Linked DNA regions of Homo sapiens: all the other regions are linked to region 4. Evidence: promoter capture Hi-C in 16 types of primary human blood cells and fetal thymus (Javierre and others, 2016). All regions are on one chromosome and are shown on one strand. The core of a region is centred on a gene start or on the middle of the fragment in contact, and the rest is flanking DNA. Distances in the headings are between cores, read along the strand shown.

Region 1 (2,768 bases), core at 5-2,504, 1.2 Mb before region 4:
TACTTACAGGGGTATAAATAACTCACTTTGGATACAATGGGTCAAAGCAATGGTCCTGATGACAATACCAAAAAATGTATAGAAGGATCTGATCACTGTGATGTCATCTGTCATCACAGGTGAGTTACATTGGACTCCCACTCAACTTTTGGTGAGTTTATGAAGTTATGTTCATATGCAAAAACATAATAACCCATTTTATGTCAAACTAGATACATACCCCTGTAGCTGCTTGAGTTTATTAATCTTAATTCTTTTCAAACTATTTAATATGTTAGCATGTACCATATCAAGAAAATATATTCTGCAAGTTTACTCCCATCTGTTGTGGAAAGTAAAAATTTGCCAGAAACTTACATATATTTATAACAATGTATGCTCACCTAGTTCTAATAATCAAGGGTTTGGCAATGAAAATTGGTTTGTATTTAAACTCACTAATTCATAAAGCAAGTACCGGATGATGTGTTGTATGTTCTCTTAGCCAGAGCAGCTGGCTATGTTTATGTAGGTAGTGCCTCTCCAAAGGTGGCTGAACAAGGGCGCAATGAAAGGCTGAAGTCCATCCCAAGTCTCCTGGCTGAGCCCTCTCTCTGGAACACGGCTATGTCTGTCTGGAGGAAGGCACACATTTTCTTTTTTAAAAAATGTACTTATTTTTATTTTTATTTTTTTGTGCAGATAGACAAATTTGACTGAATATTCTTTTTTTATTTTTTGTTTTACTTTAAGTTCTGGGATACATGTGCAGAATGTGCAGGCTTGTTACGTAGATATGCATGTGCTGTGGTGGTTTGCTGCACCTATCAATCTGTCATCTAGGTTTTAAGCCCACATGTATTAGGTATTTGTCCTAATGCTCTCCCTCCCTTTGCCCCCCACTCCCCGACAGGCCCCGGTATGTGTAGAAAACAAAACACCACATTTTCTCACTCATAAGTGGGAGATGAACAATAAGAACACATTTTCTTCTTACAAACACACTACCAATTTGCCAGGTCATATTCCCAAGAGGCTAAGATGCCTTTTTTTTTTTTTTCCTTATTTATTCTCCTATGCCCAGGCTTGTTATGTGCAAGCTTCAGGCCCTTATTTTTCTGGGTTTGAGTCAAATCTTTATTTCATGGCCCAATATGGAAACTTCTTTATACTCTGGGTCAGAGTAATTGCCTTTAGTTGAATATTTGTCAGCTTTCTTTTTCCTGATTTGAATTTACCAGAATTCCATGCAGTATTCTAGGCATAATGTACCCATTGTGATTATAATTTTCTAATGATTTTCAGGATTTCTATTTCTTTTAGGTTATGCCAGCCTTTTGGGATATTCTTGATGAAGCTATTGGAAAGAAATGTTTTCTATTTTGAAATTGCTTAGCTGGTGAAGTTTAAGTCTAGAGCTGCTGGCAGCCATCCTAGCCACTCTTGAGGATAAGCTTCCTGAGTATCTAGCCAGTACTGAGGAAGGAAGAGGAAGGAAGGAAGAAAAGAAAGAAGAGGAGGGAGGAGAATGAAAGATTTGATATATTTAATCCAATCCAGGACCTGGCTTTAGCCATTTCTGAACTTCCTTTTACAAAAGCCAAAAAAGTTCCTTTTTTATTTAAGATAGTTTGAAGTAGACTTCTATTTTTTGCCTGATACTGTCCAGTCAAATATAGTATGAAATTTATGATGTCCATTTCTAATCTGCTAGAAGTGAGGAGGGTGGAGTTATGAGCAAGTGTCTGCTTTGGTTAGGCTGTGTTAAGTACATTATATGTTATTATTATTTAAGCCTTAAAACAACTCTGTCGATCAGGTATTGCTAATGCACAGGATAAAATTTAAAACATTAACAGTATTTCCCTTAAATTTGTAGGAGTAAAGTTTAAAAATTAAGTCAATATATATGTGTATATATGTCTGTGTATGTATATATACCTGTATATATACATACATATCTATATATATGTATGCATGTATATATAGATACACATATATATCTATATGTACATGTACATTTATTAGTGTGAAACAAACAGTACTGACCTGTTAGTGGTAAAGAGACTTCAGCTCCCTATTTACAATCAGTGCAAAGGTTTCCAAGGTTATCAACTTACTTGTATCAAAGAAGTCAACACTTGATTGAAACCATGAATTGTGCAGATAAATACTGAGAAATGTGTTTTGATTGCACCACAGACAAGTAGCTTGAAAAAGGAGACAACTGAGATGCTCTAAATTACTTGAAATAAGGTAGAGGAAGGAATGTAGCAATAGCAAATTAAGTAGAAAACATTCTCTTCTATGTTTAGTACCTCGGAGGGAAATGTGTGGGCTGTTACAGGTAACTTGCTCTTTTCACTTAATGCCCTCTGCCTGCATGAGTTCCTCTGAGATGGCCCTAACTGCTTTATGTTAAAATTAAGGGGAGTGACTCTCTTGTGGAAAATAATATAGTGGATTTCTGTTTTCAGTTTCTTAGCCTTGCTACAGCAACCTATGCCACCACCACCAGCACTCACACATCACAAGCCTAGAATCTTTCAGTTAGTTGGTGTCATCCATAGGATAAAACCTCCAAACCTCTGAGAATACATCACACTGAAGCCCCATGTGATCAGATCTAAATCTTGCCTAATTGGCCAGCTTTATTTCCTTGCCTATGGCTTACATTCCAACTAAACCATTCTGCTGCCAGTTACACAAACACTTCATGCTATTCAGTGCTGCTGGCCTTTGCACACGCTGCTCCTTCTGCCTGGACCCTCTTCTCTAGTCCTATGTGT
Region 2 (3,094 bases), core at 239-2,738, 1.5 Mb before region 4:
AGGAGATGTAAAAGCAGGAACCTGGTTTTATTTTTCCTCCTCAACAGCAATTCCCTCCCCGGCAAACAAGCAGACACATCCCTGATCCTGGCGCATCTCTTTCCATAATATGCATTGAACGTACTGGCTGATGGACTGCGTTTACTTAAATTTCACCTTGATTGGTCATACAGATGGGAGTGGAGGAGATGATTTTCTTAGCTCCTTTGTTGACCTGCAGTTGTGATTTAAGCACTTGCCAATTGAATATCTATTTCATTGCAAATGGGCTGTGATGCATTCCAGTGGGCTGAGCCTCGGAGGCTGGAGAGAGCACCAGGCCCCTCTTCAACAGGATGTGGGAACTTGACTCTCGCCGCAAATTAAGTTCTTGGGGCGGGAGCCCTTTGCTGCAGGCTCTGGGCGAAGGCATGGGTAGGAGGACCTGGTGGCGGAAGCAGCGGTGGTAGCCCTGATTGTGACAACCCCTGTATGTTTTTCAGTAACTTGTGAAGGTGGAGGTGGAACTGCAACAACCCCAGCGATGCCCTGTCTGCTATGGCCTTGCATTGTGAGGTGTCATGTGGAAGGAAACACCTGACTTAAATGGGGACTTTCTGGGTGGTGTGTGTGCCCCGCCAGGTCCCCTCGGACCTTGGCAGAAAAACCACCACAGATATCGCTGTGCATTATCTCCTGGTCTGGTGTTATTCCGAGCACTGATGATCCGGATCCTTCTCCTGTTTCTACTGTGTTCTCTCTTCCAGAGTGAATTAGAGCAGAAGAAGCAAGATAGCCTAGCAAGTAGTAAAGCTTTGATGGTGATGGTCCACCTCCCAAATGCTGGCGCCTTGTATTCTCTATAAGGCATGTGCATCAGTTGGATTTTTGTGTACCCCCTGTTTTTAGAATCAGGAGCGGGACAATCATCATCATTCTACAAATTCGAACCTTCAATGTTCTTTTCCTGGTTATCCTACAAAATAGCTCCTGTACAAATAGTTTTGACTTTGCCATGGCCTCTGAGGGCTTAAGCATAAATGGATAAGGAAGTTAAATACGACTTTCTAGCCAGGCATGATAGTGCATTCCTGTGGTCCTAGCTACTCAGGAGGCTGATGTGGGAAGACCGCTTGAGCCCAAGGGTTTGAGTTCATCCTAAGCAACGTGGCGAGAGCCTGTCTCTAGTATAAATACATACATATAAATATATATGAGTTTCTATGTGTTTCTGAGGTTTGTTTTGCTATATGTTTTTGAGTTCTTGATGTGGATAGAATGGCGATAGGATGTAGAGAATATAGAGTGAGATGTAGATAGTACAGAACAACAAATGGTCCTAAAACCACTTATTTTTCTTATTCTATTTTACAATTTTTTATAGCAAATTTAACTTACATTTGTTTAGGATAATTCACTCAGCCTGCATGACCTGAAAATACCAAATTAGAAAACAGTTTTTCAGGAATTTACATTTTGACTAACGAACTTGTAGATAATTGAAAAATGTTTTCATAGATATCTTATTAGTGGCTTATTTGGTTCTTAGGCTAATAGTTGATGTACACTTCATAATACAATATAAGTTCTTTCATTTTTTCTGTTCCTCCAACCTCAAAGAGAGACCTAAATTTCAGCTACTATTTCTTTTTCTTTTCTTTTCTTTTTTTTTTTTTTTTGAGACGGAGTCTCGCTCTGTCGCCCAGGCTGCAGTGCAGTGGCGCGATCTCGGCCCACTGCAAGCTCCGCCTCCCAGGTTCACGCCATTCTCCTGCCTCAGCCTCTCCGAGTAGCTGGAACTACAGGCGCCCGCCACCACGCCTGGCTAATTTTTTGTATTTTTAGCAGAGACAGGGTTTCACCGTGGTTTAGATCTCCTGACCTCTTGATCCGCCTGCCTCGGCCTCCCAAAGTGCTGGGATTATAAGCGTGAGCCACTGCGCCCGGCCTATTTCTTATGGTTGTTCTATTTTCATGTACACCCCAACAAAAACTTTATTTTGCTAAGGACATTTGAAGTCTGAAATAAAAATCTTTGATGTCTGGGAAAGATACTGTTTGTCAAGCGAAAAATAGAAATGTTATGCTTTATTTTTTCCCTCAGCCTTCGTGTCACTCCCAACAAACACGAAAACATAGACAGACACAGACACACGCTCCTGGGTGGTAAATTTCTTTTCTACACTCAACATGATGTTAGAAACTGAAAGCTTATTGTCTACATGGAGTGAAGTGGGGGTGGAGGAATGAGGCTATCTGTGGGGTTTTCTAGAGACTTCCTTCCCAGCATGTGAAAAGATCTGTGTGAAAACTGCTAAGAAGAGGAAGAACTCAACGAGCTAACCAAGACAGGTGGCAGCAGCTGGGCACAATGGGTGGCTCAGGCCTGTAATCCCAGCAATTGGAGAAGCTGAGGCAGGAGGATTGCTTGAGGCCAGGTGATTGAGGCTAGCCTGGGCAACAAAGCAAGACCTCATTTCTACAAAAGAATATGCAATATTAGCCAGGCACAGTGGTGAGTGCCTGTAGTCCTAGCTACTCTGGAGGCTGGGGTGGGATGATTGCTTGAGCCCGGGAGGTCAAGGCTGCAGTGAGCCATGAATGCACCACTGTACTCTAGCCTGGGTGACAGAGCAAGACCTTGTCTCAAAAAAATAAAAAATAAAAAATAAAAAAAGGCATGTGGCAGCTTCTAGTCAATGAGAGATCCAGAGTTCGATTTGAGGAAAGTGAAAGCTATACATTAGAAATGGAAAGCTATGGAAGATTCCACAAAGAGAAATAGATAATATTTTGAAACCTTACTCTAAGGAATATGACAATGTGGGATATCCTCCCTGCCCTCAACCCTCCCCCTTGTTCCCATTCCATTTCTTCTCCTTTAGAGCTTTGAAGAAAACGCATTTGGTATTTAGTAATCAGGATTAAACAATATAAGCACATCACACCTCTTAGCTCACTTTTTCTGATAACTGCACAGAAACAAGACTCTGTCATAAGATGAGCATCTTTTCTCACCTTTGTTATAATGGTGCTCTTCACTTTGGGTTGCGCTTTTTCTCATTAAAATTGTGATGTTTTCAATTTCAAGTTTTCCATGGTGTTCACCCTGCTC
Region 3 (3,102 bases), core at 313-2,812, 1.6 Mb before region 4:
AGACCAGGCAAAGAATTGTAATGCACTGGAGAAAGAACTAGAATTGCCAACAAAGAAGGCAGAGCTTCCCTGTAGTGCCTGGACAGAGCAAGTGTTCTTAGCGTGACTCAAAGGGAGATAAAGTGACTATGACTCAGTAAACCTGTAAGAAGCACAACTACATATACAGACATGTGACAAGAGAAGGTACTCAGTTAAGTTAAATATTTGCTACTTTTGCTATGGCAATGACTATTGTTGCCATTGCTTACAAAAAATAATCATAAAATTCATATGGAAGCAAAAAGAGCCCTGAGTAGACAAAGCAATCCTAAACAAAAAGAACAAAGCTGGAGCCATCACATTACCTGTCTTCAAATTATACGACAAGGCTATAGCAACCAAAACGGCATGGCACTGGTATAAAAATAGACACATAGGTCAATGGAATGGAATAGAGAGCCCAGAAAGAAAGCCACATACCCACAGCCAACTGATCTTTGACAAAGTCGACAAAAATGTACACTGGGGAAATGATACTCTATTCAATAAATGGTGCTGGGAAAATTTGACTGCCATATGCATAAGAATGAAACTGGGCTCCTATCTCTCACCATACACAAGAAATTAATGCAAGATGGAGTAAAGATTTAAATGTAAGATCTGAAGCTATAAAAATACTAAAAGAAAACCTAGGAAAAACTTATGGTCATTAGCCTAGGCAAAAATTCATGGCTAAGACTTCAAAAGCAAATACAACAAAACCAAAAATAGACAAATGGGATTTAACTAAACTAGAAAGCTTCTGTCAGTAAAAGAAATAATCAACTGAATAAGCAGACAATCTGCAGATTGGGAGAAAACATTTGCAAGCTATGCATCCAACAAAGGACTCATATCCAGAATCTACAATCAACTCACAACCCCCAAAATAATTTCATTAAAAAGTGGGCAAAGGACATTGAACAGATATTTTTCAAAAGAAGACACACATGTGGCCAACAAGAATATGAAAAAGTGCTCCACATCACTAATCACCAGAGAATTGCAAATTAAAACCGCAATGAGATATCATCGTACAGCAGTCAGGATGGCTATTATTAAAAAATAAAATAATAAGAGATGTGGGCAAGGATGTCGAGTAAAGGGAATGCTTATACACCGTTGGTGGGAATGTATATAAATTAGTACAGCTTCTAGAGAAAACAGTATGGAAATTTCTCAAACAACTAAAAATGGAATTACTGTAAGATTCAGCAATCCTACTACTGGATATTCAACCAAAAGAAAAGAAATCGGCCAGGAGCAGTGGCTCATGCCTCTAATCCCAGCACTTTGGGAGGCTGAGGCAAGCAGATCACCTGAGGTCAGGAGTTCAAGACCAGCCTGACCAACATGGTGAAACCCCTTCTGTCCTAAAAATACAAAATTATCCGGGCCTGGTGGCAGGTGCCTGTAATCTCAGCTACTCGGGAGGCTGAGGCAGGAGAATAGCTTGAACCCAGGAGGTGGAGGTTGTGGTGAGCCAAGATTGTGCCGTTGTACTCCAGTCTGGGCAACAAGGTGAAACTCCGTCTCATAAAAAAAAAAAAAAAGAAATAAAGATATCATTTTACCAAAAAGACACCTGCACTTGTATGTTTATCACAGTACTATTCACAATAGCAAAGTCATAGAATCAACCTAAGTGTCCATCAATGGATGAAACTTATAAAATGGATGACACTGATAAAGAAAATGTGGTATACGTGGAATACTACTCAGCCATAAAAAAATAAAATTATGTCTTCTGCAGTAACATGGATGGAGGTAGAGGACATTATCTTAAATGAAATAATTGAGAAACAGAAAGTCAAAAAGCACCTGTTCTCACTTGTAAGTGGGAGTTAAATTAAATATAGACGCGGACATAGAGTGTGAAATAATAGACCCTGGAGACTGGGAAGGGTGGGAGGGTTGGCAAGAGTGAGGGATTGGAAATTAATTAATGGGTACAATGTACACTATTCTGGTGATGGTTATAATAAAAGCCCAGACTTCATTACTACACACGGTATCCATGAAAAAAAACCCCTGCACTTTATCCCTTAAATTTATATAAATAAAAAAAGAAAGGAGGGACCCTGAGTCAAAATATAGCACATAAACATAAGATGATAAATCAGGTTTTAGAGGAGAGAAAGATATATAAAGTTGGTGCAAAGGTAATTGCGGTTTTTGCCATTACTTTTGGTAAAAGCTGCAATTAACTTTGCACCAACCTAAAAGAAGAAAAGACACAGAAGGAAAAAAATATAAAAGCCACAAAGAAGTAGTGGGGCACAGTGGAGAGAGCGAGCGTTTTGAAATGAGATGATGCGGGGATCAAGCTTCTACTAGAGGTGTGATCTTGGGTAGTTCTCTCTCTCTCTCTGTCTCTCTCTCTCTCTCCCTTGTTTTTGTTTTTGTTTTAAGTTATTTTTTATTACACAAATAATACATGACTCATTTCTGGAAGAAGCTTTACAACACAGATAAAGTAGAGTTTCAGATGACCTCTCACTCCTCCTTGCCCTCTCTTTCCCAGAAACTACCATTGTTTATCTTTGCAGAACTTTTTCTAAGTGTTTACTGACCTTTGTATGTATGCACAGGAATATCTGATTAAAAACCTAAATTGCTCTGCATGCTGAATATTGTGCTGCCTATTCTGGGCCTATCTTGTTCTTTGTAAATGTTCCAGAGTATTCTGTGTTAGGGATAGTCCAGGTTTGTTCAGTCTTCCCCCTTGACTAAAAACAATGTAATGTTAAGCATCTACTTGTGCTTTTCTGTGTAACTGCAGGGCAGTGGTGGGGGGAAGTGTTCTAGGACAGAGATCTAAAAGTAGAATTGCTGAGATGAAAGATTTGCATATTTTATTTTCCTGTAGGATCTGCCAATTGTCCTCCAGTGAGGCTTCAGCAATGTGCCTCAATGAAGTCTTGTCTCCTCATACCCTCTCCGTCACTGGACGTTTGTAATCACTTTTTAATTTCATTAGCACAATCACTTAATCCTCCAGGGCATCAGCTTACTCTGTAAAAAGGCAAAAATTCTACTCCACAATAAAGTTATGACAATTATATTATTTAACAACAGTGC
Region 4 (3,152 bases), core at 79-2,578:
TCAAAAGTGTCTGGAAACCACAGAGTACAGTCAATTTCATACACGATATGTGCTACAAGAGAGTAAACAAAGGATGCCATGACATCAGAGAAGAGACACTTGAGGCTTTCTGGAGGACTTAAGCTTTGAAGAAAACTTAGCCAGGCTTAAAAAGGTATGTGAATCCTAGAGCATGCAAAGCACTTTCTGCATTAGAAAATTTAACATTCCCAGTTGTTTCAGATATCTTAAGCCGAACGAGTTTATTGTTCCTCTATGACTATCTGAACATGAAATTAAAACTTCTTATGAAGGAGGCTTTCCTGAGTCTAGTTAGAAGCACGAGGCTTCAACATCCTAGACTTAACATTTTTTTACCAGAGTAAGAAACCATGAGAGTAAACCACAATCCACACCGGTTTCATGTTAAACTCATGAAACCAGACAAATTCAACCTTTTATATAGGATTATATTTCAGGAATGGCATAACGATTCTAAACAACGACGCTGTATTCTAAATTCCTGTACTGTTACAAAGATCCCTATAGTAGGCGCTCAACAACTGGCGACGGCTTCACATTTACCCAGCCGCCAGAGAGGGCTTGTCTTGAGTGTGTCTGAGGATGCAGCACCCAAAGGGAAAAACCACTACATGAACAAGATCAGGAAATCACAACAGCATCCTTCTGGGTAAAAGGAGGTATTCAGAGGTGAGGAATCCAAGAAACGATTTACCCAAAAACGCCACCGCAAGAGAAAAACCAGTATTAGTGACTTTCCCTTCATCGGTCAACAATAATAAAAACGCTCAGAAAGGCTGCCCCGGACGTCACCTGCGCGTTCACGGACCGCCCCGGGCCGCAGACACCTCTCCAGCGGGGAGCGGCCGGCTCGTCCCGCCCGTCCCACCGCTCAGGGAAGGTTGCGGCCGCGCAGCTCCGCGAAGGTGCCACGGCGGGCCCGACCCTCAGACTCGCTTGTCCCTGGAGACCAACCCTAGCGACCAGGCTCTGCCGGATCCCGTCGGGTTTCAACTCCTATTCCGAAGGTCCTTTCTCCCCTAATCACAACACCCACTCGCCTCTTTTTCCTCCTCTTCCTCAGCTTCCACCGCCGACCGGGCAGCCCCAGTTACCCGATAACGGCTCCCAAGGCCCCGTGTTTACATTCTTTCCCACTGGAAGCAGAAATTATCACGCCCAAATTCCTACCTGCCTTCCCTGGATTCCTGGTTTCCTAAGAAACGGGTTTGGCCCACCCCTGGGCGTTCGAACAGTCCACAGAAGCGGGCAAAGGAAAGACGACTCAGTCTTTCCCCTCCGCCAATCTCTTCTCCGGGACCACAAATCCCAGAAGTCACCGCGGCCGCCCCCACTGCATGACCTTCTGGGATTTGTAGTAGTCAGGGCCACGCGGCTGGGCGCGCCCTCTAGCAGCAGCCCTGAGTGACCGCAGCGCACGAGCGCGGGAAAATGAGGCTGCGCGGGCTGAAGAGCGCACCGAGAGGAGCCGCCCCCGCGGTACCGCGCAGCCTCGCGTCCCGTCAGTGGGGAACAAGGTGAGGGGAAAACTTATTTTACGGGATTCAAAGGATTAGGATATGCTCCTTCCCCGAAGGGGTTTATAGCCTAGCTGATGAGGTCGGCCAGACGCAGAGAACAGAGAGGCAAAATTCGGTTATAAAGGGCTCGAGGCGGCCGGGCGGGGAGGCTAGTCAGGGAGGCTCGAGGCTGAACTGCAGGCTTCACGTTAAAGTTACAAGTGAGTTGGACCCAGAAGGCAGAATTACAGCCAGAACGTAGCTGTGCATCATGTCTTGAAAATAAACGAGCACATGTAATAAAGGTAATCAAGATTGTTAATTTCTCCAACTCTCCTGCCCAAAAGACTCATTTTTGGAAGTCATACTTTCTCAGCCTCAGCACCATTAACATTTCAAACTGGATAATGCTTTGTTGGGGGACGGGGTGTTCTGTGCATTGTAGGGTGCTTAGCAGCATCTCTGGTCTCTGTCCACGGGATGTCACCACCAGTCGATTGTGACAGCCAATGGTTTCCCCAGTGAAATTTCCCCTGGAAGAAAAACTATCCCTCCCACCCTGCCCCGTTGAGAACCACTGATGTCGACCAACGATTGTCCTGAGGGTCAATGACACCCTTTCAAAGCCAAAATTATTTTCATACTAATATGAAGACGTGATTTGCCCTTTGCACAATGCTGACATTTGCACTGATGGTGGAAAAGCAATGGTAGGTCAAGGTGCTGGCCCCTCCACAGGAATTACAGTAATGACACCAAACCGTACTGGAGCTCTTCACCACCACACGCTCACAGTAAGAAAAATGGGCCGGGCGCGGTGGTTCACGCCTGTAATCTTAGCACTTTGGGAGGTCAGGAGTTCGAGACCAGCCTGGCCAACATGGCGAAACCCCATCTCTACCAAAAATACAAAAATTAGCCAGGCCTGGCGGCACGCACCTGAATCCCAACTACTCGGGAGGCTGGGGTGGGAGGATCCCTTGAGCCTGGGAGGTCGAGGCTGCAGTGAGCCGAGGTCATGCCACTGCATTCCAGCCTGGATGACAGAGCAAGGCACGGTCTCAAAAAAAAAAAAAAAAATGGAAAAATGAACGCTGTCACCAGAGAATATCCCTGATGAAGTTGTAAAAGTTACTTTATTATAACCACTCCGACACTTAATATTCTTTGTAAAAACTTGGAAGTCCTCACAAAGTACTTCTGCTGCATATTGAAGTATGACGTATCAAAGAAGAGCTACTGTGAGATGGCATTATAAACTGAAGTAAATACTTTTTTTTCCTGGAACACAAATTTTACTAAGATGAGTGACAAACCGGTTATTCGGACTTGGGTATTTGACAAACCTTTCTTGAAAATGAACAAAGGGAATCTGTAACTTCAAGAAAAACAAGGAAAGGGAAAGGGGAAGGGGAAAGGAAAGGAAAAAAGAGAAATAGGGAGGGAGGGAGGAAAGAAAAAAAAATTGAGTTTGTTGCCAATGATAAAATTCAAGATTTTAGGCAAAAAAAAAATATGATTTTGGAAAAATGGTATTCACCATAATGATCTTGGCAGCTTCCCAGTATCTCCAGAATTTTCTGATATAAGTGATTATCAGTTGTGACTTTTATTTACATTGTTTGCTTAAAT
Region 5 (2,897 bases), core at 161-2,660, 1.7 Mb before region 4:
CAAATTAGAAAATGCACTATGCTTTCACTCTAGCCGTTGTCAACAAGGAGCCCAGCTTTAACAAATTACTGTAGATAACAGTCATTACGTCAGGTACGACATAGGGTAAAAAACTGATCTCATACAGAATGTCTACAACAAGTTTTTTTGTTTACTTCCTAAGGTGTTTTATAGACCTCAGAAACTGATTCTGTACAGCTGAACCGGGTTACACTCCAAGCTACAGCCCGTGTGAAATATGACTTCGTCGGAATCAGTAGGCTCAATCCTGTTTACCGTGGAAGAGAAAAGAATCTTGTACGTAACTACTAAATCTTCAACGAGATAATGTCGAATAAACTCTAGTACTGTAAGTGATAGAGGAAACACTGGCTAGTAACGGGATTAGGTCATTAAAAATATCACCCGAGTTTCCCCAGTTCGGAAGGTGTAAACAAACCCATCTCCACTGCAGAAGGTAAACAATGAACCTGCAGCAGGGTGAGGGGGCGGTCTTTAGCCAACTACAGTCCCAGCGGCCCGGGAAAGGGAAGCAGAAGGGAAACAGCATAAACCAGACATTTAGCAGTAATGACCAGTTCTAGGTTTCACTACCAAGTTATCAATGCTGCGGGTCCCCACAGGACGGTGGGCAAAGGGGAAAGCAGTCACGCAGTCGGCAAGCACCGAGCAGGTCCGGCTTCTGCTCCGGGGACGGGGAGGGCAGGATGTGGTCGCTCTTCCCTCAAACATCCTCCTGCAACCTAAATAACAGCCTCTACCTCCCTCCAGCTGCCCCTAGCTTGGGCTGCCGGACTCCGGGATAGGTGCAAACCACTCTGCCGGAGCTCGAGCCCAGAGGGTCGCCGGGTCTGCCGAGTTCCACTCGGGGCTCCCCCGCACCCGCAGCAGCCCGAGGCCCGGAGAAGGGCTCGGGCGAGGGAAGCGGGCGCTGGGTAGGGGGATGGGTCCGGCGAGGCGGCCCCGGGCTCGGTTCCCGCGGGCCGGCAGGCGGGGCTCCGGCTCTGGCCCCCGCACCCCGCCGGTCCCGTGCGGGGCCCGCCCCTGCCTCTGGCCCCCAGCCCCGGACCCGGCTCCTCCCCAGCAGCGCGCCCTCGCGGCGCCCGCGGCGCCCCGCGTTACCTCGGGTCAGATCCAGCGGGACGTTCTCCTCGCCGCTGTCATTCCGCCCTGCGCGAAACAGACACACAGCCCCAATTAGGATTGGCTCGCAGGCCAGCTGCGGCTGCCCTGGCTCCGGCCAGCGCCCCGGCTCGCTCCCCAACCCAGGGCCAGGGGAAGGCAAGTGCCAGGGGTGGCGGGCGCCGGGCGGTGGGGAGTGAGGGTTGCAGCGGGCTTACCTCGTACTCGGAGGTTCTTCAGAGAGCGGCCGCGGCCGATCGCCGCCATATTGACGGGTTTCAGTCACAACACCGGAAACCTCGCCCAATCGCGCGAGAACCCCTTCCCCTCCCCGCGCGCCGCGCCCGCCCCCCGCGGCACCTCCCCCGCCCCCTCGGCGGCGACGGCGGCGGGTGGTGCAGGCTCGGCCCCAGCGCTGAGGGAGCACTGAGCCGACCCAAGGTCTGCAAGGAGTTCGCGGCACCCGCCCGCCCACGCCGGACCCGGAGGGCACGTCCGCCGGGAGGGGCAGTTCCCACGAGGAAAGTCCCATTGATGCGAGTTGGCAGTGTAGAGGATGCTCCCCTCCGGCCGCCGCGGAAGCCGTCGTCCAAATGCAGGCGAGCGGGGAGGAGGAGGCCGGGATGCGGCCGGCGGGCCACCTGCTCTCGCCGGCCTGCCAGTCTCCTGCTTGCTCTGAAGCCCTGCCATAGACGGCCCCGCTCCCCCGTGTATCCACTGAAACATTTTTTTATAAAAACGCTGCGCACAGTTTTAGACTCCTTTCCTGGAATCGCTTTGCTCCAACTAAGTTAACACGTAACAAAGTTTGTTTTCCAGCCTCGCCCTTGATCTTCAGAATGCCCCTCTCGGCTAGGAGGGCTTCTCCAAGTGGAAGTGGTTAGGCAGTTTTGTTTTTGGCCGCCAGGCGTAGGACGCGAGAAGGGGGTGCAGCGGCCGGGGACCAGGGCGGCGGTCCCCGCGGTGGGATCGCGCCAGCGCCGGGAGGCCGGGGAGAGGGTGTTCTCTGCCGGGAGCCGAGGCGAGGCTGCTGGGTACTGTGTCCGGCTTTTATGGCTCTGCAGCTCCTAGGATCGTGGCTCATGCAGGTGTTGTGGATTAATCTATTTTATGCATAAGCCTATTAACATTAGGGATTTTAATTCTAGAAACTGCTTAGTTAATACGTATGTGTACACACACACACACACACACACACACACACACACACACACACACACACACACACACACACACACACACCTGGCCACTGACCCAGCAGCTTTCTCTTGAACTACATTTACTTTAAAGAGAGGAGCGATTTGTCCTCTCCAGTTCCTCAGCTCATCTTTCTATTCCATGAGACTGAAAGTTAATTAAAAGTGGAGATCTAGCCTTAACCAGTTCTGTTTTCCCAGCTCCCAGTTAATGCAATATCTGGCACAAATAAGTATTCAATAAATATCTGTTGGATGAGTAAGTGCCCTGGATTTCTAATTTATTCCAATTCTCTGCTTACTTTAAAAAAGAAAAAAAAAGCAATATTGGGGATATTTGTTGAAGTTGTTAATAAGAGTGAACATTTGGAAACACTTAAATGACCAAAGGTAGGGATTATGTAAATTATGTCAACGATTAAAAGTGAAGAGGTAGACTTAGTAATAGGAAATAATGTTCATGATATTAAATCAAGCAAAATATTACAAATTTCCTGTTTTATAATAAAAGTTTAAATATGTACGAAATTAAAAATATACATTATAAAATATTTTATATGTACATGTATGTTGAAAAAA
Region 6 (2,874 bases), core at 165-2,664, 1.2 Mb before region 4:
TTAATGCACTTTTAATTTGTACAAGTCAGGACTAGGAAAGGGTGGCTGAAACGAGGGATGCTGCAATTTTGTGGAAATTTCCTTTGTTCCTCAGGCAGATTCTCCAAAATATTTATGTCTATTGAAGCCTGAACTGCTCCTAACACCTGTCAGAACTCAGAGCGCCCAGACCTCAAGATTTGTAAGGAAGTTCTTCTTCACATTTGTTCTTCTTCTTCCTTGCTTCCCCGATTCTTTCTGAAAGCGTGGTCTGTTCTTATTTCTAATAAAATGCACCTGTTCAGAGTTACTTGAGCGCTTAAACGTACCACAACCTCTCAGGAGAACACCTGCCCGTTCTCTCTCTGGTCTGTCTTAATAGGGCATGGCAAAATGTGATTCTCATTTCCACCTACATTTTCGTAGGATGGGGGTTAGCCTATTTACTTCACACTGGCTCAGACTTAGACCTCCTTAGAATCCATGGGTTCTGCCAGACTCATTCCCACGCTGTTTAGACTTCAGGAATGCCTACCATTAAAGCCCTGCCCCTCCGCCACCTCATAAACGATTACTGGGAGCAAATATGATTATTATTTCTTTTTTTTTAATTGTTACTTTTTTTATTATACTTTAAGTTCTAGGGTACATGTGCACAATGTGCAGGTTTGTTACATATGTATACTTTGTATCAACATGGATTCCTCAGGAAATGAAGCATGACAAGAACTTACAAGCTAGTGCTTTCATGAGGATGGGGGTGCAGTCTCAGGAAACCTAGAGTCAAAGACAGCAGATACATTACAGAACTGGCCATAGCTTTCCAATATACATGGCTGGTTGCTTATCTTGCAGAACATCTTTAGGAAAGTTGTACAGAACTCCTGTGCATCAGAATTGTCTATAGAGGAAGAAAAATGGTGAAACCACTTATCTGCTGGATTTTTCCTCATCTCAGGTCGTGCATGACTCCAAGTTCACTGGCTAAGGGAATGGCTTTCTTGCAGTTTCAGGTTGTATTCTGCTTGCCAGGAAGCCTTGAGGGGAACCAAAGGCTAAATGGATCCTGTAAGGCCAGAGCACGGTTGAACTTTCTCATCCTGGCAGTTGCTGCCACACATGAGATCTATGGGGGTGGCTCTGCTGGAGTTTGATACCTGTCTCTGGGGCTACTCTTGCTGGCTAGAAATCAAAGCAAGTGGTCAAGTGTCAGCGTGGGGGTGTTATGAGCCAAGTTCATTGGATATGAGTGATGCATAAACTGGGTTTAAATCCAATCTTTGTTCTAAACAGGCTGAAAATAGTTCTCTTCTTTTTAATTTTTTTAAAACAGTTGTTATACCTCAAAGATTTCTTTTGTCTTCATTTTGAAGGAGCTGAATCTCCCTCAGGGGTTGGTATCCTCATTCCTGCTTCACCAGGCTTCAGAGCCACAGGTAAATGGACCAGTGCTTATTTTCATGGATGAATAAATTCAGTAATTCCTATTATCCTAAGCATATACAAATTATAAAATCCTATTTTGTATTTTTACTGTGCAGAACATTCTTTCACTGCAGGTGAATGGATTATTTTTAAGAATTTTTTATCTTCTTGCTGTTGGTTAACTTGTGTTCCTACAACCATTACATTTGATTAGAGCGAAATACAAATCTCAAATGTGTTTTGTCTTGCACAATACGTTTTGTTGAATAGGCTGAATTTTTAATTTTCTCCATTGCTTTCATAAAACACAAGTAAACTGATGAGTTTAAATTATATAAATCCAACAAGGATATAAAGCACTAGATTAGTTCAAGGGGAAGGAGATGAGGTTGAAGAAGATACAATTCAGATTATAAAAAAATTATTTTAGTTCTGGGACAGACTTTTGAATTACATTGTTTCTTCTTAGCTAAATTTTCCTATGTTTGTGGAAACTTTTGATAAAAGATTTGCCTTCTTTCAGTGATAAGCCAACTTCCACCAATGGAATTTCTTCTCTGTAAAAAAATCTCTCAGCAATATATCTGGAAACTCATGTCTGAAAGGGCAGATCTGAAGACATAAAGCTGATATAATTCCTGATGTCAGCTTCAAATAATTGAGCTGCATTCCTGCTAGTGCTTGTCACCGACAAATACAATTTATCCAATGATTCTTAGTGAAAAGGATAACATTTGCTGTAAGAAGTCCAGGAATCCCACTCACTATGGCAGGGGCAAGGCTTGTTGTGTCACATTCCCATTTTAACTGCATATTGCATTTTGTTAACCAGGCCCTGCATCTCATGACGTTTGTGATGGAACTAAGGCATTTCAGCTACTCCCATAGCCACAGCCCTGGAGTGATTTATGATTTTGGTGAAGTGCTCTGAGTTTTGGTGAACACTGTTAGAATAAAATATCTTCGGAAGAAGAGTGGCTGCTAGGGGAAAAAGTCAACTAGGAATGACCTCCTAGGTCTAATAATAATCATTTTGGAATACTAGAAAGAGCATGGTGTTAGGATTTTGAAACATTTAAATTTTATTCCTCTCTTCATCGTTCAGTAGACCTTTGTACTAGAATGTGACTTCAAAATTTTCTGAACCTCAGTTTTCTTCTCTGCAAAAATGGAAAAGCTGATAGTAACCTCAAAGGGCTATTGGGAAGATGAAATGAGAAGATGTATGGAACTAGCAGTCTCACTGCCTCACATATAGTAGGCGCCCAATAAGAGCTTCTCTTTCCTCCTTCACCCAAATCATCATCCCTTCAACATTCTTACAGACCAGGTATCTGTAGACTGCTGGTTGGTTTATGTGACAGTTATTTCTGATCTCCTATCTGAATGCCTTCTGCTCTCCATGCTGGTAAAGCTACATATTGCTTTTCAAGCTTCCCTTGCATCTGGCGATGGAGGACATATTAGGTT
Region 7 (2,790 bases), core at 278-2,777, 1.4 Mb before region 4:
ACACACAGGCTCAACGGGTTAGACGCACGGCAGAGCACCTGGATAAGCCAGATAATTTGTGCAACATATTCTTATCAGCAGCCTTCTCTAGCTCATCTGTGGCTTACTTTCAATTCCCCTGGAACCTGCTTTTGTATGGAGTGTATTTCTATTCCACCTCACTATTGTTAGAAAGAGACCAAATGTTTCAGTCAAGGAGAAAGGTAAGGCAGTAATAAGGAACATTCCAAAATATTATACACCAATAGATAATCCTACCCCAAAATGTCTTATTCCTTAGAAAAGTTAGGTTTAATACCAAGACTTCTATATCCATGCAAAGCCCACCTTGGGATTCTCTTTCTTGTAGTTGCAGGTCTTTTTGCAGTGAATGAGAACCTTGAACTTTTATACTAGGTGAGACAGTTTAAGAGCGCCCTAATGCTAAAAACATCTGTTCATCAGCCCACTCACCTCATGCAACAGCTCTCCAGAGGGGCCTGTGCCAGCCTAGAGCAGTCCACACAGTCGTGTCTTGGTGAGGTCAAATATGACTGAGTAAAAAACAAGAGGCAGCCAAGGGTAAAAGGCATGAACCAATAGTGCACTAATGAGTGATTTTATAGTGGATGTCAGCTGAGGTTGTTCTGGTACAGGTCTTATCTACTAGTCTTCCTTACACTCCCGGAAAGGGAGTGTGTGTGGGTTTGAGACAGAAGAAGGTGTGAAATAGATCAGACGGTAATTTACTCACGGTCCTATTTCATGGATTTCCACTTTCTCTTCACTGTTGTGACAATCCAGAATCTATTATAGCTAACATTTTCTCCACTTCAGACTGGTATGTTTTATAGCTTGCCTCTAATGTCAACTCAAAGCAGGTAGAATAAACCGATGGTACCACATGATATTCTGCCACTCCAGTTTATTGAAATGAGTAAATTTATAGCTTTATTTGCATACAGAAAAGTGCATGAGAAAATAAGTATGTACAAAACAGTTGTGTGGCTGATCATGACTTTCAAAAATTCAACTACCTAGAAATAGTTACCTCCAGTTTAGCACATTTAGGTATTTGGACATTTAAAGTACTATTTCAAGTCTGTGTTTATAGTGACTGAGTAGGAAGCTGATAGAAAATTATGCCATATATGATCAACTATTACCATTAAACATAAAACCACAGGACTTTCTACTTGGGGCTAATCAATAGAGGGTCATGTGGCCCCTGTCTTGTTTAGCTTCTGAGCATCACCCTCTTCTTCCCCCTCAAGGTAACATTGGATGTGGCTGATTAACTCCCACAAGAACCTGAGCATTAAGGGTCAAGAGACAACATTAAAAACCCAACATAAACAAAACAAAACAAAACTTATTTTGACAATAATAAACCCTTCAGAACTGTGCTCACAACAGGACTGAAAATGAACTGGGAACGTTTCCAAGTTGTGAGGAGAAAAATATTGCAGACATTAGATTTTCAATGGTAACCCCAAACATTTGTTCTACAGCTTTTTCTCCCCTCTTATCTTCCTACTAACGACATTGAGATTGTGGCTGCAAGAAAAGTTTTCCAGTTACTTGATAAAGGCCTAGCATGACCCCAAATAAGCACCTAATGTGTTTGGCACAATCACATTTAGCTTTGTGATATGTTGCTCTTCAAAATAGAGTCCTTTGTTGCTGAGTTGAGTTCAATTTCTCTTGAACATTAACTGCTCTTCTGGAACTTCAGCTCAAGAGAGTGGCCTCCTCTTCCACAGGAAGGATATAGGTTGTGCCCATTTGCAATTCTAGTTCTTGGGACTAGCAATTACTGAGAATGAAGAGAGGCTCCAGATCTGTCTGTGAATCATTAGATTTTTTTTTTTTTTTGCCCTGTGAGAGTCTGTTGCTTGTGAAAGGGTGGTAATACTACTTGAACCCAGGAGCAAAACTGACTGAAAAAAGAATCAGAAAAAAAAGGGGAGGAGAGATGAATAATGTTCTTCCCTCATTTGCAATAGCTAGCAAGAAATGGGAGAAAAGGACAATCTTGGCCTTGGGAGAAATTGATCTTCAGAAAGAAGAGAAGCTATCTCTTTAAAAAGGTCCTTAAGTGGTTAGATTCCAAAGTGTCTAAGGAGAAGTTGTAGTTGCTTCAATTTTACTTTAGAAATTCTCTGTAACTGATGGTCTGAAGCAAGATTTCTTTTAAGAAGGTGCCTTGTTCTACTATAACCTTTAGGTTTTATGCTCTGAAACAGAACCCCCAAACAACTCTGAACAATAAGGATTTGAAAATTTATTCAAAACAGTATGATATGAAGGGATGTGGTGGCTGCATCTCCCAACCAGAGGGTAGAAGGCAGGTGTTCTAGAAGGTTCCAGGGACACAAGAGGCAGGGTTCAGTAGGGAAACTACTGTACTTCATTTACACTTAAGCTAGAGAGTTTAGGATCTTAATTTATTTAAAGCCATAGATTCAGTTTAGCTTTAACCTAGACAGAAAGTGAAAAGCATTTTACAAGTAGAAGAGGCAATGAGAAATAAGGCAACAGATAATACGTCAAAGCTGGAACAAGGGCAGAAATCAGAACGTGTCTGGCTATCAGCTTTGTTTTTGACTACTAAGGCCAACCTTTTTATTCCTCTGGATGGTCTGCAGACCAAGTTCCTAGAGAGGTATGGAGAAGAAAGAAACTTGTGGTTAGAATTTTTGAACTGAATATCAATGTATTAAATATCAAGTCATTATTAAAGATGTCAGTAATAGTATCTCCTAGGGCTGATGTGAGGATTGATGAAGATGATAAATGTAGAGCATCTAA

Evidence for each region. Contacts are between HindIII fragments. The CHiCAGO score rates a contact against its expected background, and 5 or more counts as called.
Region 1: a fragment that was not itself captured here is called in contact with the fragment with the promoter of TTC33 in region 4 in 3 of 17 cell types (monocytes, M2 macrophages and total B cells); the score reaches 10.2 in monocytes.
Region 2: a contact is called between a fragment that was not itself captured here and the fragment with the promoter of TTC33 in region 4, in 2 of 17 cell types (monocytes and naive CD8 T cells). The highest score is 7.3, in monocytes.
Region 3: a fragment that was not itself captured here is called in contact with the fragment with the promoter of TTC33 in region 4 in 1 of 17 cell types (fetal thymus); the score reaches 5.0 in fetal thymus.
Region 5: a contact is called between the fragment with the promoter of RICTOR here and the fragment with the promoter of TTC33 in region 4, in 7 of 17 cell types (total CD8 T cells, total B cells, fetal thymus and 4 more). The highest score is 10.3, in total CD8 T cells.
Region 6: a contact is called between a fragment that was not itself captured here and the fragment with the promoter of TTC33 in region 4, in 10 of 17 cell types (monocytes, M0 macrophages, neutrophils and 7 more). The highest score is 16.4, in monocytes.
Region 7: a fragment that was not itself captured here is called in contact with the fragment with the promoter of TTC33 in region 4 in 1 of 17 cell types (monocytes); the score reaches 6.2 in monocytes.

What each region holds. Positions count from the first base shown.
Region 1 is chr5:39,565,687-39,568,454 of GRCh38, forward strand. No RefSeq gene overlaps it. Among named protein-coding and RNA genes, the nearest start is that of LINC02104, 47 kb to the left of the region's middle. The HindIII fragment of the contact is 354 bases long and covers 1,078-1,431 here.
Region 2 is chr5:39,209,681-39,212,774 of GRCh38, forward strand. The region is part of intron 1 of FYB1 (FYN binding protein 1); the gene reads right to left. Among named protein-coding and RNA genes, the nearest start is that of FYB1, 8.3 kb to the right of the region's middle. The HindIII fragment of the contact is 1,397 bases long and covers 791-2,187 here.
Region 3 is chr5:39,164,879-39,167,980 of GRCh38, forward strand. All of the region lies in intron 2 of FYB1 (FYN binding protein 1), which reads right to left. Among named protein-coding and RNA genes, the nearest start is that of FYB1, 53 kb to the right of the region's middle. The HindIII fragment of the contact is 1,567 bases long and covers 780-2,346 here.
Region 4 is chr5:40,754,633-40,757,784 of GRCh38, forward strand. TTC33 (tetratricopeptide repeat domain 33) reads right to left here and starts at 1,329. Exons shown (of 5, transcript NM_012382.3): 1 at 1,192-1,329. RefSeq lists an enhancer at 1,203-1,352. The HindIII fragment of the contact is 9,414 bases long and covers 122-3,152 here.
Region 5 is chr5:39,072,989-39,075,885 of GRCh38, forward strand. It overlaps RICTOR (RPTOR independent companion of MTOR complex 2), which reads right to left and starts at 1,411. Exons shown (of 38, transcript NM_152756.5): 1 at 1,341-1,411; 2 at 1,123-1,170. The coding sequence starts at 1,389. RefSeq lists enhancers at 244-770, 1,297-1,823 and a silencer at 709-1,608. The HindIII fragment of the contact is 5,742 bases long and covers 1-2,897 here.
Region 6 is chr5:39,582,978-39,585,851 of GRCh38, forward strand. No RefSeq gene overlaps it. Among named protein-coding and RNA genes, the nearest start is that of LINC02104, 64 kb to the left of the region's middle. The HindIII fragment of the contact is 2,841 bases long and covers 1-2,835 here.
Region 7 is chr5:39,370,790-39,373,579 of GRCh38, forward strand. DAB2 (DAB adaptor protein 2) reads right to left here. Exons shown (of 15, transcript NM_001343.4): 15 at 888-2,636. Among named protein-coding and RNA genes, the nearest start is that of C9, 7.7 kb to the left of the region's middle. The HindIII fragment of the contact is 7,648 bases long and covers 1-2,790 here.